Linked DNA regions of Homo sapiens: region 2 is linked to region 1. Evidence: promoter capture Hi-C in 16 types of primary human blood cells and fetal thymus (Javierre and others, 2016). All regions are on one chromosome and are shown on one strand. Each heading gives the region's core, a stretch centred on a gene start or on the middle of the fragment in contact. The rest is flanking DNA. Distances are from core to core; before and after follow the strand shown.

The links. The method cuts DNA at HindIII sites, captures the fragments that hold promoters and counts their contacts. A CHiCAGO score of 5 or more calls a contact.
Region 2: the fragment with the promoter of CIDEC here is called in contact with the fragment with the promoter of VHL in region 1 in 6 of 17 cell types (naive CD8 T cells, activated CD4 T cells, total CD4 T cells and 3 more); the score reaches 8.5 in naive CD8 T cells.

The regions. Positions count from the first base shown.
Region 1 is chr3:10,136,145-10,143,027 of GRCh38, reverse strand. It overlaps VHL (von Hippel-Lindau tumor suppressor), which reads right to left and starts at 1,250. Exons shown (of 3, transcript NM_000551.4): 1 at 841-1,250. The coding sequence starts at 1,180. It also overlaps the pseudogene LOC124906359. RefSeq lists an enhancer at 1-333. The HindIII fragment of the contact is 16,438 bases long and covers 1-6,883 here.
Region 2 is chr3:9,874,717-9,881,530 of GRCh38, reverse strand. CIDEC (cell death inducing DFFA like effector c) reads left to right here and starts at 1,278. Exons shown (of 7, transcript NM_001321142.2): 1 at 1,278-1,307; 2 at 2,477-2,589; 3 at 3,020-3,097; 4 at 4,312-4,465. The coding sequence starts at 3,045. The HindIII fragment of the contact is 5,760 bases long and covers 1,121-6,814 here.

The DNA of each region.
Region 1 (6,883 bases), core at 1-2,500:
TCTTACCTAGGGTTGGCTAGTTCCTACTCCATCCTGCTCTCTTCCTTCTCCGGGAAGTGCTCCTTAACTGAAACCACACAACCGCAACCCCTCCATCTCCCAGCAGGCAGGTAAGTCAATTTCCCACGCCACACACGGTCGGCTCTTCCGGCGCCAACATGACCCTGGCTTGTTCCTGTCTTTGCATCTGTCAGTCTCCCCAGGAGGAATGTGTTCTCCACGAGGGCAGGGACTACGCAGAACTGGCCCACTGGAGTCATGAGGACTGAACAGATGGGGTGTTAAGGATGCAGCTTTTCTTTGAGGGGAAAATACACGTGGGGTGGGGGACTGGGGGGAGCCACCTTCAAATGCAAACTATTCGGCCTTATAAAGAATGCTCTGGGCCGGGCGCGGAGGCTCATGCCCATAAGCCCAGCACTTTGGGAGGCCGAGGCGGGCGGATCACGAGGTCAGCAGTTCGAGACCAGCCTGACCAACATGGTGAAACCCCGTCTCTACTAAAAATATAAAAATCAGCCGGGCGCGGTGGCGCACGCCTGTAATCCCAGCTACTCAGGAGGCTGAGGCAGGAGAATCGCTTGAACCCGGGAGGCGGAGGCTGCAGTGAGTCGAGATCGCGCCACTGCACTCCAGCCTGGGCGACAGAGCGAGACTCCGTCTCAGAAAAAAAAAAAAAAAAAAAAGAATGCTCTGACGCTTACGAGCAGCGTCACCCTGGATGTGTCCTGCCTCAAGGGGCCTCAGTTCCCCGTCTGCAAAATGGACCCCGGGGCGGTAGAGGGGCTTCAGACCGTGCTATCGTCCCTGCTGGGTCGGGCCTAAGCGCCGGGCCCGTACCTCGGTAGCTGTGGATGCGGCGGCCCGTGCCAGGCGGCAGCGTTGGGTAGGGCTGCGGCTCGCCGTCGAAGTTGAGCCATACGGGCAGCACGACGCGCGGACTGCGATTGCAGAAGATGACCTGGGAGGGCTCGCGCGAGTTCACCGAGCGCAGCACGGGCCGCGGCCGCCCGGCCTCCATCTCCTCCTCGGCGCCCAGTTCCTCCGGGCCGGACTCTTCCGGGCCGGACTCCTCGGCGCCCGACTCCTCCCCGCCGTCTTCTTCAGGGCCGTACTCTTCGACGCCTGCCTCCTCCGCGCCTACCTCGGCCTCGTCCCAGTTCTCCGCCCTCCGGGGCATTCCCTCCGCGATCCAGACCACCCGGGCCGGACGCCGCGGGATCCGCGGGTCGGACGCGGGGCGGAGCTGCGTGCGCGCTCCCGAGTCGACCTCCGTAGTCTTCGCGCGCGCTCGGTAGAGGATGGAACGCGCTCGCGGAAATAGCCGGCCGGAGGCTGTGCGCGTGCGCAGAAGGATCCTCCAGCACCGTAGGCCGTTGTAACGGAGGCGAGGCTAGGCCAACTCGTTACTGTATTTCCACTATAAAATTTTTTTTCGCCCCTCTAAGGTTTGGTGTTTTTTTTTTTTTTGAGACAGGGTCTCACTCTGTCGCCCGGGCTGGAGTGCAGTGGCGCGAGCTTGGCTCACTGCAGCCTTGACCTCCCTGGCTCAAGCGATCGTCTCGCCTCAGCCTCCCGAGTAGTTGGTACTGTAGGCGCGCACCACCATGCCCGACTAATTATTTTTATTTGTTGTTTGAAACGGAGTCTCGCTATGTTGCCTAGGCTGGTCTCGAACTCCTGGGTTCAAGTGATCCTCCTGCCTTGGCCTCTCAAAGTGCAGGGATTACAGGCCTTAGCCACTGTGCCTGGTGGACTAACTGAATTTTTTTTTTCTTCATGTCAGACGCGCAATGTGCCGACGTCGTAACAAGGTTCGAGGGTGGCGCATCTCACACGGGAACACCCAATCATCACGCTTATAAAGTACAAAAAGTCAACTAACTGAATTCTTACAAGGCATGGGTGATTAGTAAAGAGGGAAAAATAATTAGACCTACTATGTGCAGAGCACTCTGGTGGAAATTGGAAAATCAGATATTTACTTCAGAGCAATTAAAACTACAAACATAAACACTCATTAACTTTGTTCATTTTACAAATATTTATTAAGGCCCTACTATGTACCACCTATGGTGATAAGTGTTGAAAATATTGTAAAAACCGGTCATGTTTCCTGCCTTCACTGCACTTCAATAAAAGCGTCATACGGTAATCAATCACACAAATAAAATAGCAACTATGGCCGGGTGCAGTGGCTCATGCCTGTAATCCCAGTACTTTGGGAGGCTGAAGTGGGCTGATCACAAGGTCAGGAGTTCTAGACCAGCCTGACAACATGGTGAAACCTCGTCTCTACTAAAAATACAAAAATTAGCCTGGCGTGGTGGTGCGCGCATGTAATCCCAGCTACTTAGGAGGCTGAGGCAGGAGAATTGCTTGAACCCGGGAGGCGGAGGTTGCAGTGAGCTGAGATTGTGCTACTGCACTGCAGCCTGGGTGACAGAATGAGACTCTGTCTCAAAAAAAAAAAAAAAAAAAGTGCAACTGTGACTAGTACGACAAAAAGAGACAGGGTACTATAGAAGGCTAAAGATCTGGGGGTCAAGGAAGATGGTACACAATTCTGTGTAATTAAATGTTCAATGATGTGGGATGGACTCAAGTGGAGAAGCAGCTCAGAAAAAGAAGGGTTCAGAGAGTTTTATATTAGTTAAAAATAATTTTTTTTTAGACAGTCTCGCTTTATCACCCAGGCTGGAGTGCAGTGGCTCAGTCTCAGCTCACTGCAACCTCCATCTGCCGAGTTCAAGTGATTATCGTGCCTCAGCCTCTGGAGTAGCTGGGATTACAGGTGTGTGCCACCACACCCAGGTAATTTTTGTACTTTTAGTAGAGACGGGGTTTCACCATGTTTGCCAGGCTGGTCTTGAACTCCTCACCTCAGGTAATCTGCCTGCCTTGGTTTTCCCAAGTGCTGGGATTACAGGTGTGAGCCACCGTGCCCAGCTCAAAAATAAATTTCAAGTAGAAAGAAAAAAATCTATCAAGTGCCAGACACTGTGCTAAGCATCCCACGTGAATTAAGGCTATGTCATTATCTCCATTTCACAGCTAAGGAAACAGAAGGGTATATAAGAATGTGAAGGCCTAGCACTATACGCCTGTAATCCCGAGATTTTGGGAGCCCAAGGCAGGTGGATCACTTGAGTTCAGGAGTTGGAACCAGCCTGGGCAACATAGCGAGGTCCTGTCTCTATAAAAAATGAAAGAATTAGCCAGGCATAGTGGCGTGCACCTGTAGTCCCAGCTACTCAGGAGGCTGAAGCAGGAGGATCACTTGAGCCTGGGAGGTTGAGGCTGCAGTAAGCCGTGATCATGCCACTGCACTCCAGCCTGGGCAACAGAGCCAGACTCTGTCTCAGAAAAAAAAAAAAATGTGAAAAGGGTAGTCAAAATGCTGGATCAGAGAGGCTCATCACCTGATGCCTTAGGAGAAAATGACAGTATGAGTGAACCTCAGGAGTTGGATATCTCCACAAAAGCACTGACACCATGAACCTAAGTAATTTTGCCTAGGGCTCTCCTTGACAGCTCACTGCACAGAGATGGTGTATCCTGGTGGCCTCCAGCAGGATTAAGTGACCAGCAGTGATGCTGGACCCCCAGCTACATTAACAACATGAAAACACTGTAGAGAAAAATCCCAAAGTAGGCCAGACGCAGTGGCTCATGCCTGTAATCCCAGCACTTTGGGAGGCCAAGGTGAGCAGATCACTTGAGGTCAGGAGTTTGTGACCAGCCTGGCCGACATGGTGAAATCCCATCTCTACTAAAAATACAAAAAATTAGCCAGCATGGTGGCCTGCGCCTGTAATCCCAGCTACTCGGGATGCTGAGGCAGGAGAATCACTTAAACCCCAGAGGCAGAGGTTGCAGTGAGCCCAGATAGCACCACTGCACTCCAGCCTGGGCAACAGAGTGAGACTCCACTCAAAAAATAAATAAATAATAAAAATAAGATAAACCCCAAAGTAGGACTTCTGTTAATCAAATTACAATGGCTTAGAGCCATCATAATTCACAAGATTCATGCAAACATCCCCTCAGTTGTACTCCCATGCTAGCGAGGTGAAATATAACAGTTTAATATTACAGAAATGCCTACATCCCTAAAATGAAACCAGTTGTTTAGATAAATGCAGGCTTTGAGACTGCAAATAATGTTTCAAAGATCATTTAAGAGGAAGGGGTGGCCAAGCACGGTGGCTTGTGCCTGTAATCCCGGCACTTTGGGAGGCCGAGGTGGGCGGATAACTTGAGCTGAGGAGCTCGACACTAGGCTGGGCGACATGATGAAATCCTGTCTCTACAAAAAATACAAAAAATTAGCCGGGCGTGGGTGCACCTGTAGTCCCAGCTGCTCAGGAGGCTGAGGCTGGAGGATCACCTGAGCTCAGGAAGGTCAAGGCTGCAGTGAACTGTGATCGCGACACTGCACTTTAGCCTGGGTAACAGAGCGAGACTCTGTCTCAAAAAAGAAAAAAGAAAAGAAAAAGTTGCAAAGGAAACAAGTTTAGAATACACAGGCAAAATTTTTCTTACAGTACACTTTTCATTAGGCAAAAAGACATGTAGAAAAGAATAAAAAATACAATGTCTAAAGACAACCGGTGGGCCGGGCGCAGTGGCTCACGCCTGTAATCCCAGCACTTTGTGAGGCCAAAGCAAGTGGATCACGAGGTCAAGAGATCAAGACCATCCTGGCTAACCCAGTGAAACCCTGTCTCCACTAAAAATACAAAAACAAAATTAGCCGGGCATGGTGGTGGGCGCCTGTAGTCCCAGCTACTCGGGAGGCTGAGGCGGGAGAATGGCATGAACCCGAGAGGCAGAGCTTGCAGTAAGCGGAGATGGCGCCACCGGACTCCAGCCTGGGCGACAGAGCGAGACTCCGTTTCAATAAATAAATAAAGACAACTGGTGACTTGTTCTATCTCCTTTTCTGTCTTTTCCAAATTTTCTCTAAGGGGGATATATTTTGCCTTGTTTGTATGTCGACCAATTAAAATATACAAGTACAATAATAAAGCAAATACTGATAATGTCACATGTAATTAGCATGTTGCCATATTTACTTCGTTTCCAGTTTTTGCAATGAGCTGAGATCGTGCCACTGCACTCCAGCCTGGGCGACAAAGCGAGACTCTGTCTCAAGAAAAAAAAAAAAACCAGAGTATCTTGTCACCCCCAAAACTCCTTCATGGTCAAACCCTGCTTCCACTGTTAATCCCTGGCAAGCACTGGTCTGTCTGTCTTGTGTCCCTATAGTTTTGCCTTTCCAGAATGTCACACAACAAAATCGTATCATATGTAGCCTTATGAGTTTGGCTTTTTTTCACTTAGCATAATGCATTTGAGATTCATCCAAGTTGTAGTATATAATAACTTACTCATTTTTATTGCCAAGGGTATTCCATACTATCTACTTACCAACTGCAAGATATTGGTTTGTTTCCAGTTTTTAGCAATTATAAAGTTGCTATATACATTAGTGTACAGGTTTCTTGCAAACATAAGTTTTGTTTCTCTTGGGTGAGAATCACCTAGGAGATTGCTAGGTCAAACACAAAGTACATGTTTAACTTCATGAGAAATTGCTAACCTGTTTCCCCAGAGCAGTTGTATCATTTTGCATTCTCACCAGCAATGTATGACTGTTCCAGTTGCTCCACATTCTTGTCTACAGTTGGTATTATCAGATTTGAGGTTTTGTTCTTTTTTTTTTTTTTGAGACAGTCTCGCTCTGCCGCCCAGGCTGGAGTACAGTGGCACAATCTCGGCTCACTGCAACCTCCACCTCCGGGGTTCATGTCATTCTCCTGCCTCAGCCTCCCAAGTAGCTGGGGCTACAGGCGCCCGCCACCACGCCCAGCTAACTTTTCGTATCTTTAGTAGAGACGGGGTTTCACCGTGTTAGCCAGGATGGTCTCGATCTCCTGACCTTGTGATCCGCCCACCTCGGCCTCCCAAAGTGCTGGGATTACAAGCGTGAGCCACCGCGCCTGGCCTGGGGTTTTGTTCTTTAAAAATAAAAAAATTTTAGCCATTCTAATTGATGTATAGTGGTATCTTATTGACGTTTAATTTGTACTTCTGAGAGGTGACAATGTGCTGGCAGCCCTCGCGGCCCTCGCTCACTCTCGGCACCTCCTTGGCCTTGGCCACCACTCTGGCCACGCTTGAGGAGCTGTCCAGCATGCGGCTGCACTGTGGGAGCCCCTTTCTGGGCTGGCCAAGGCCAGAGCCGGCTCCCTCAGCTTGCAGGGAGGTGTGGAGGGAGAGGTGCGGGCGGGAACCGGGGCTGCCGTGGCGCTTGTGGGCTAGCACAAGTTCCGGGTGGGCGTGGGCTCAGCCGGCCTGCAAGCCCAGGGCAGTGAGGGGCTTATCACCTGGGCCAGCAGCTGCTGTGCTCAATTTCTCGCAGGGCCTTAGCTGCCTCCCAGCCGGGCAGGGCCCAGGAGCTGCAGCCCGCCATGCCTGAGCCTCCCCCCTCTTCCGTGGGCTCCTGTGCCACCCGAGCCTCCCCGACGAGCGCCACCCCCTGCTCCACTGCGCCCAGTCCCATCAACCACCTGAGGGCTGAGGAGTGCAGGTGCAGGGTGCGGGACTGGCAGGCAGCTCCACCTGCGCCCCGGTGCAGGATCCACTGGGTGAAGCCAGCTGGGCTCCTAAGTCTGGTGGGGACTTGGAGAACCTTTATGTCTAGGTAAGGGATTGTAAATACACCAATTGGCACTCTGTATCTAGCTCAAGGTTTGTAAACACACCAATCAGCACCCTGTGTCTAGCTCAGGGTTTGTGAATGCACCAATCGACACTCTGTATCTAGCTACTCTGGTGGGGACTTGGAGAACCTTTGTGTTTAGCTCAGGGATTGTAA
Region 2 (6,814 bases), core at 29-2,528, 260 kb after region 1:
TGATTTAATATGTACATTATCAAATTGAGAAAAAGACAAAAAAATTAAAAATAATAAAATAAAAATAAAAAATTATCAGTAATACTAATAATCACTTCGATCCATTGAGTGTTTATGTTTGCAAAGCCTTTATTTTTATTTATTTTTATTTTTTTGAGACAGAGTCTCACTCTGTCACCCAGGCTGGAGTGCAGTGGCGTGATCTCGGCTCACTGCAACCTCTGCCTCCCGGGTTCAAATGATTCTCCTGCCTCAGCCTCCTGAGTAGCTGGGATTTCAGGCACCCACCACCACGCACGGCTAATTTTTGTATATTTAGTAGAGATGGGGTTTTCGCCATATTGACCAAGCTGGTCTCGAACTCTTGACCTTGTGATCTGCCCACCTCGGCCTCCCAAAGTTCTGGGATTAGAGGTGTGAGCCACCGTGCCCGGACTTTTTTTTTTTTTTTTTTTTTTTTGAGACAGGGTCTCACTCTGTCACCCAGAATGGAGTGCAGTGGTGTGATCTAAGCTCACCGCAACCTCTGCCTCCCAGGCTCAAGCGATTCTCCTGCCTCAGCCTCCCAGATAGCTGGGATTACAGGCACACACCACCACGCCTGGCTCATTTTTCTATTTTTAGTAGAGACGGGGCTTCACCATGTTGGCCATGCTGGTCTCAAACTCCTGACCTCAAGTGATCCACCTGCCTCGGCCTCCCAAAGTGCTGGGATTACAGGCGTGAGCCACGGCACCCAGGCTACTTTTTTCTTTTTTCTTTTCTTTTCTTTTTTTTTTTTTTTTTCAGAGACAGGGTCTCACTCTATTGCCCAGGCTGTCCTCCAACCCCTGTCCTCAAGCAATCCTCCCGCCTCAGCCTCCCAAAACACTGGGATTATAGGCATGAGCCACTGTGCCCCTTTACTTTTATTGTCACTAATCCTCACCACTACCCTATAAAACAAGAATCATTATCGTCATTACACAGAGAAGAGAAACGGGCTCACAGAAGTCAAGTGATCTGTCTAAGCTCAAGCAAGCTGATATGGGGTGGAGTTGGGACCACAACCCACATCTGCCTGCTTTCTGTGCCCTCTGTGCTTGATCTCATGTCATGGGCCATCCATTTTGCCAAAGCTTTCGAAACATGCCTTCTCCCCTCCTTTTAGGCCTTTTCTGGAAGTCAGGCTGGCTTGCAGCTCTCACCCCAAGCTCTTTTCCCCAGCTGGGGCTGAAGGCTGGGGAGGAGCTTCATGGGGGCTGGAAATAAATGAAGGGAGGGCTGGGCGGGACAGGGCAGTATTTCCAGGAGGCTGTGAGGGGGAGGTAAGGAGTTTGTTATTGTTTTGGGTTTGGGGATTTTTTTTTCTTTGCTCCTGGAGAGCAGGTTAGGTAGCTCTTGGCAGAGTTTTGCTAGGGATACGAAGTGGGTGAGGCTGAGGCAAGCAGAATCCTCCTGCCTCAGCCTCCCACGTAGCTAGGACTAGAGCTTCTGCAGTGCTAAGTGGGAAAGGGGCTTTCTGCCTCTGTGGGGCCTGGTCTGGAAAGTCCCCCAAATTGTTAAAAGCAAAGAGTGATTGTCCCCAGCTGGCAAGGGGACTTTTGTTTTATGTCCACCCCTTGTGCCCCTTGCTCTGCGAAGCCCTACCTGTGCCGGGAGCTTCGAATAGGAAGAGGACCTCAGGGCCAGGCATCCAGGGACTGAGGGGCTACAGCAGAAACAGACCCAGAGGCACCCTTGGCTAGGAAGAGCAGGATGAAGGTGTAATAATTTTGGGAGTGGTCTAAGAAGACTTTCCTTTTAAAGAGTGGAAAGCAATGAAACTGAGGCTTCAAGGCTGCAAAAATTTCGTCCTGGATCAGAGAAGGGCACTACAGGTGGAGGGAACTATCTGTGCAAAGGGTTGGGCCCTTCAAGAGTTGGAGCACAGAGGTTTAGGAGAAAAAGTGGTGACAGATGAGCCCAGGGCTATCTGCTTAGACCTGTGATCTAATATGGGTGCCAACAGCCACATGGCAATGTGGCTATTTAAATTTAAATTAGTTAAAATTCAATAAAGTAAAAAATACAGCTCCTGTGCCAGGTGCAGTGGCTCACGCCTGTAATCCCCGCACTTTGGGAGGCCAAGACAGGGAGATCACCTGAGGTCAGGAGTTCAAGACCAGCCTAGCCAACATGGTGAAACCCAGTCTCTACTAAAAATCCAAACAAAACGAAACTAAACTAAAAATTAGCTGGGCGTGGTGGCAGGTGCCTGTAATCCCAGCTACGGGGGAGGCTGAGGCAGGATAATTGCTTGAACCCAGGAGGCGGAGGTTGTAGTGAGCAAGATCGCCCCATTGCACTCCAGCCTGGGTGACAAGAGCGAAACTCAAAAAAAAAAAAAATTCAGCTCCTGAATCACACTAGTTATGTTTCAAATACTCAATAGCCACATGGGGCTAGTAGCAATGGTATTGGAGAGTATGTACAAGGCATGCCTCTATCATCACAGAATGTTCTTTTGGCCACTGTGAAGCCTCAGGAAGGGGCTCGGATTGCTCAAGGACCCATGGGAGAGAGGAGGCTTTGACTGGGCTGCCTGCCTGTGAGGTCTCTGGACTAGAGGTGAGGGAACGGTCCCCAGAAGTGTGAGGTGGTGTGACTCACCTCCTGCCAGCGTAAAGTGGACTCTGTCCCCATGGACAGGAACAAATCGGGCAAGGCTTCTTCAGCCCTGAGTTGGGTTATCTGCTCAGTGTGACCAGAGCCAGGGGATGAGAAACATGGAGTGAGTGGGACTGGGGCAGGAGCAGCAGCTGCTGAGTGAGGCTGAGCCTGAGCACCCGGTGGGGAGAGGGGTGGGGTCTCCAGCTTGGTCTTGGTTGGCATGCATGGGGCCGGACAGGAGAAGGGCTGGGGGAGGTATGTGTGAGTTGGGATAGAAGAATAGGGAGGAAGGTTGCTGAACAGGGGTTGGGTTGCACCTTGCCTAACAATGAGAGAGATGGGAACCCTCTCATCTCACCCTGATGAATTGTTTCTGCCTCCTTCCCAGGTCCAACGCAGTCCAGCTGACAAGGATGGAATACGCCATGAAGTCCCTTAGCCTTCTCTACCCCAAGTCCCTCTCCAGGTGAGGAAAGTCATGGGCAGAATGGAAAGAGAGCCACCTATGAGCTGTAAGCCAGAACTTCTCAAACTTTAATGGGTATACAGGTCACAGGGGACCTTGTTCAAGTGCAGATTCTGATTCAGGAGGTCTGGAGTGGGACCCGAGATTTTGCACTGCCAAGAAGTCCCTGGGTGATATTAATGCTGCTGCTTACACCACCACCACACCATGCATAAAAAGGAGTAGACACTATGCTTGGTGCTTTTACTCCTGATCTCATGTAAGCCTCACAACAACTTTGGGAAGTGGGGGTTATTATACCAAATTAATAGGTGAGAGAACTGAGGCACATAGTGGGTGCTCTCAATCACCCAGCAAATCCATGAGGGAGCCAAGATTCTAAATTGGGACTGCCTGACTGTAAAATCCAGGTCCTTTCCTTTCCTTTGGTTCTAAATTGAGTGCTTCAGTTAAAAAAATACCTTACATTGACTTCAGGCTTCCCCCACTTCATCCAACTTTACAGGTGAGGAGAGTGAGGCCAAGACAGGTGGTAAATGGGGAATGTGGGGTGGGTCTTTTATTACTTTGCTACTTACTCCTCATGGTCTGAGAACCAGCGTTATCAACATCACTTGGGAACTTGTGAAACATTTGGAATCTCAGGCCTCACCCAGGTCTACTCAGTCAGAATCTGCATTTGAACAGAAGCCCTGGTGACTTATGTGTCCTTCGAAGTTTGAGATGCACTGCTCTAGCAGGCTTTTTTTAATTTTTATTTTATTATTTTTTTTTAAGTCGAGGTCTCCCTCTGTTGCCCAGGCTGGAGTGCAGTGGCACCATCACAGCTCACTGCAACCTCTGCCGCCTCCCAGGGTTCAAGCAATTCTTGTGTCCCGGCCTATGGAGCTGGGATTACAGGCATGTGCCACCACACTGGCTAATCTTTGTATTTTTAGTAGAGATGGTGTTTCACCATGTTAGCCAGGGTGGTCTTGAACTCCTGACTTCAAGTGATCTGCCCACCTCAGCCTTCCAAAGTGTGGGATTACAGACATGAGCCACCGTGCCTGGCTTCTAGCAGGCTTCTGAGTAAGACTAGGGCAGGATTAGCAGGTGATGGGGGGTTGACTGATCATGAGCCCAGTCAGGAGGGGTGGGGAGGTGGCTCCCCTGTGTGGTGGGCAAGGGTTGGGCAAAGTGGGTGGCTCACCCTGATGCTTCAACTGCCCCAGGCATGTGTCAGTGCGTACCTCTGTGGTGACCCAGCAGCTGCTGTCGGAGCCCAGCCCCAAGGCCCCCAGGGCCCGGCCCTGCCGCGTAAGCACGGCGGATCGAAGCGTGAGGAAGGGCATCATGGCTTACAGTCTTGAGGACCTCCTCCTCAAGGTGAGAGCACCTGCGCGTTGCACAGCCCAGCTGTGAGCTGGGATTCAGCAGAGATGGAGGTCAGGGCTTAGAAGGTGGCACAGTTTCCTTTCTGATACCTACCAGCGCCTACAGATGGTAATGCCCACCTGGAGAGCTGTCCAACTAATTAGCAATGACTGATGTCTGTTTGGTAACAGGAGGGGGGCAGTACGTTACCATCCTACACTATCAGTAGGTCAGTGGTATTTTCAGGGCACATTTTTCTTGCTGGAAAATCTCATGCTTCCCACTTCCATTAGTTTTTTTTTTTTTTTTTTTTTTTTTTTGAGACGAAGTCTCACTCTTGTCATCCAGGCTGGAGTGCAATGGCGCGATCTTGGCTCACTGCAACCTCTGCCTCCCAGAATCAAGCGATTCTCCTGCCTCAGCCTCCTGAGTAGCTGGGACTACAGGCACACACCACCACACCCAGCTAATTTTTTGTACTTTAGTAGAGACAGGGTTTCACTGTGTTGCCCAGGCTGGTCTCGAACTCCTGAGCTCAGGCAATCCACCCACCTTGGCCTCCCAAAGTGTTGGGATTACAGGTGTGAGCTACCACACCCAGCCCAAGATGGAGTCTTGCTGTGTCACCCAAGTTGTAGTGCAGTGGCATGATCTCAGCTCACTGAAGTCTCCGCCTCCCAGGTTCAAGTGATTCTCATGCCTCAGCCTCCCAAGAAGCTGGGACTACAGGCATGCACCACCACGCCCAGTTAATTTTTGTATTTTTAGTAAAGATGGGGTTTTGTCATGTTGGCCAGGCTGGTCTCAAACTCCCGACCTCAGGTAATCCACCCACCTCTGCCTCCCAAAGTGCTGGGATTATAGGCGTCAGCCACCATGCCTGTCCTCACTGATCATCTCTATAGGGGTGGGACCCTCTCATCTGCAATCCCAGGTGCCTGGTACAGGTCAAATGTTTGGATTAGGCTTCCAATTATTAGGCTCTATTTAACATACAGAAATCAATCATAGCTAACCTCTTTATTCTAAGTTTCCTCCCCTATTTCTGTGTATTAGTTCTGTTCTTCCGGAGAGCCAATTTCCCCTCCTTTGTAAGGCTTCTGGCTGCGCAGACTACATTTCTTGTGCTTTCAATCAAAAGGACCTGTTCATACTCTAACCTGGACTTGGTGCTGTTTTTTTGCCCTGAGGTCTGGGCACCCCCTGCATCAAAGTGTCCTTGTTATATGTGGCTTCCCCTGGAGGAAGCAATTGCAAACTAACAAAAGTTACACAGTACAAATACAATACAAAACTTTGCCTGAATCATTTGAGAGTAAGTTGCCAACTTGCTGCCTATTACTCTTGGATACTTCAATGTGCATTTTCTACAAACAAGGATATTCTCCTTTCTACAAACAAGGATAGCCATCATACAACTATTACAATCAGGAAACAGTATTACATTACTGTAATTGAATCCTGAAACTCAAGCATTGCCAGCTGTCCCAATAATATCCTTTATAGTGAAAGGATCCAGGTCAGGATCAAGTGTTTATTTAATTGTATGTCTCTTTAGTTTCCTTCAGTATGGAACAGTTTTTCAGTGTTTCCTTGACTTTCATGGCCTTGACCATTTTGAAGATTATGAGCCAGCTATTTTTGTTTACTGTCCCTTGGTTTGGAACTATGCATTTCTTTTTTCTTTTTTTTTTTTTTTTTGAGACAGAGTCTCGCTTTGTCGCCCACGCTGGAGTGCAGTGGTGCTATCTCGGCTCACTGCAAGCTCTGCCTCCCGGCTTCCCACCATTCTCCTGCCTCAGCCTCCTGAGTAGCTGGGACTACGGGCGCCCGCCACCGCGCCCAGCTAATTTTTTTTGTATTTTTGGTAGAGACGGGGTTTCACCGTGTTAGCCAGGATGGCCTCAATCTCCTGACCTCGTGATCTGCCTGCCTCGACCTCCCAAAGTGCTGGGATTACAGGTGTGAGCCACCACACCTGGCCCTATCCATTTCTTTAATTCAGGTTTATATCTTTGGCAGGAATATGATAAAAATAAGTTGCAGGCCAGGCATAGTGGCTCATGCTTGTAATCCTAACACTTTGGGAGGCCGAGGCAGGAGGAGTCCTTGAGCCCAGGAGTTCAAGACCAGCCTGGGCAACATGGTGAGACCCCGTCTATACAAAAATAATACAGGAATTAGCTGGACATGGTGGTGTGCACCTGTAGTCCCAGTTACTCAGGAGGCTGAGGCAGGATGATCACTTGAGCCTAGGAATTTGAGGCTCCAGTGAACTGTGAATGCACCACTGCACTGCAGCCTGTGTGACAGAGCGAGACCCTGTTTAAAAAAAATTTTAAAAAGATTGTCACTGCAAAA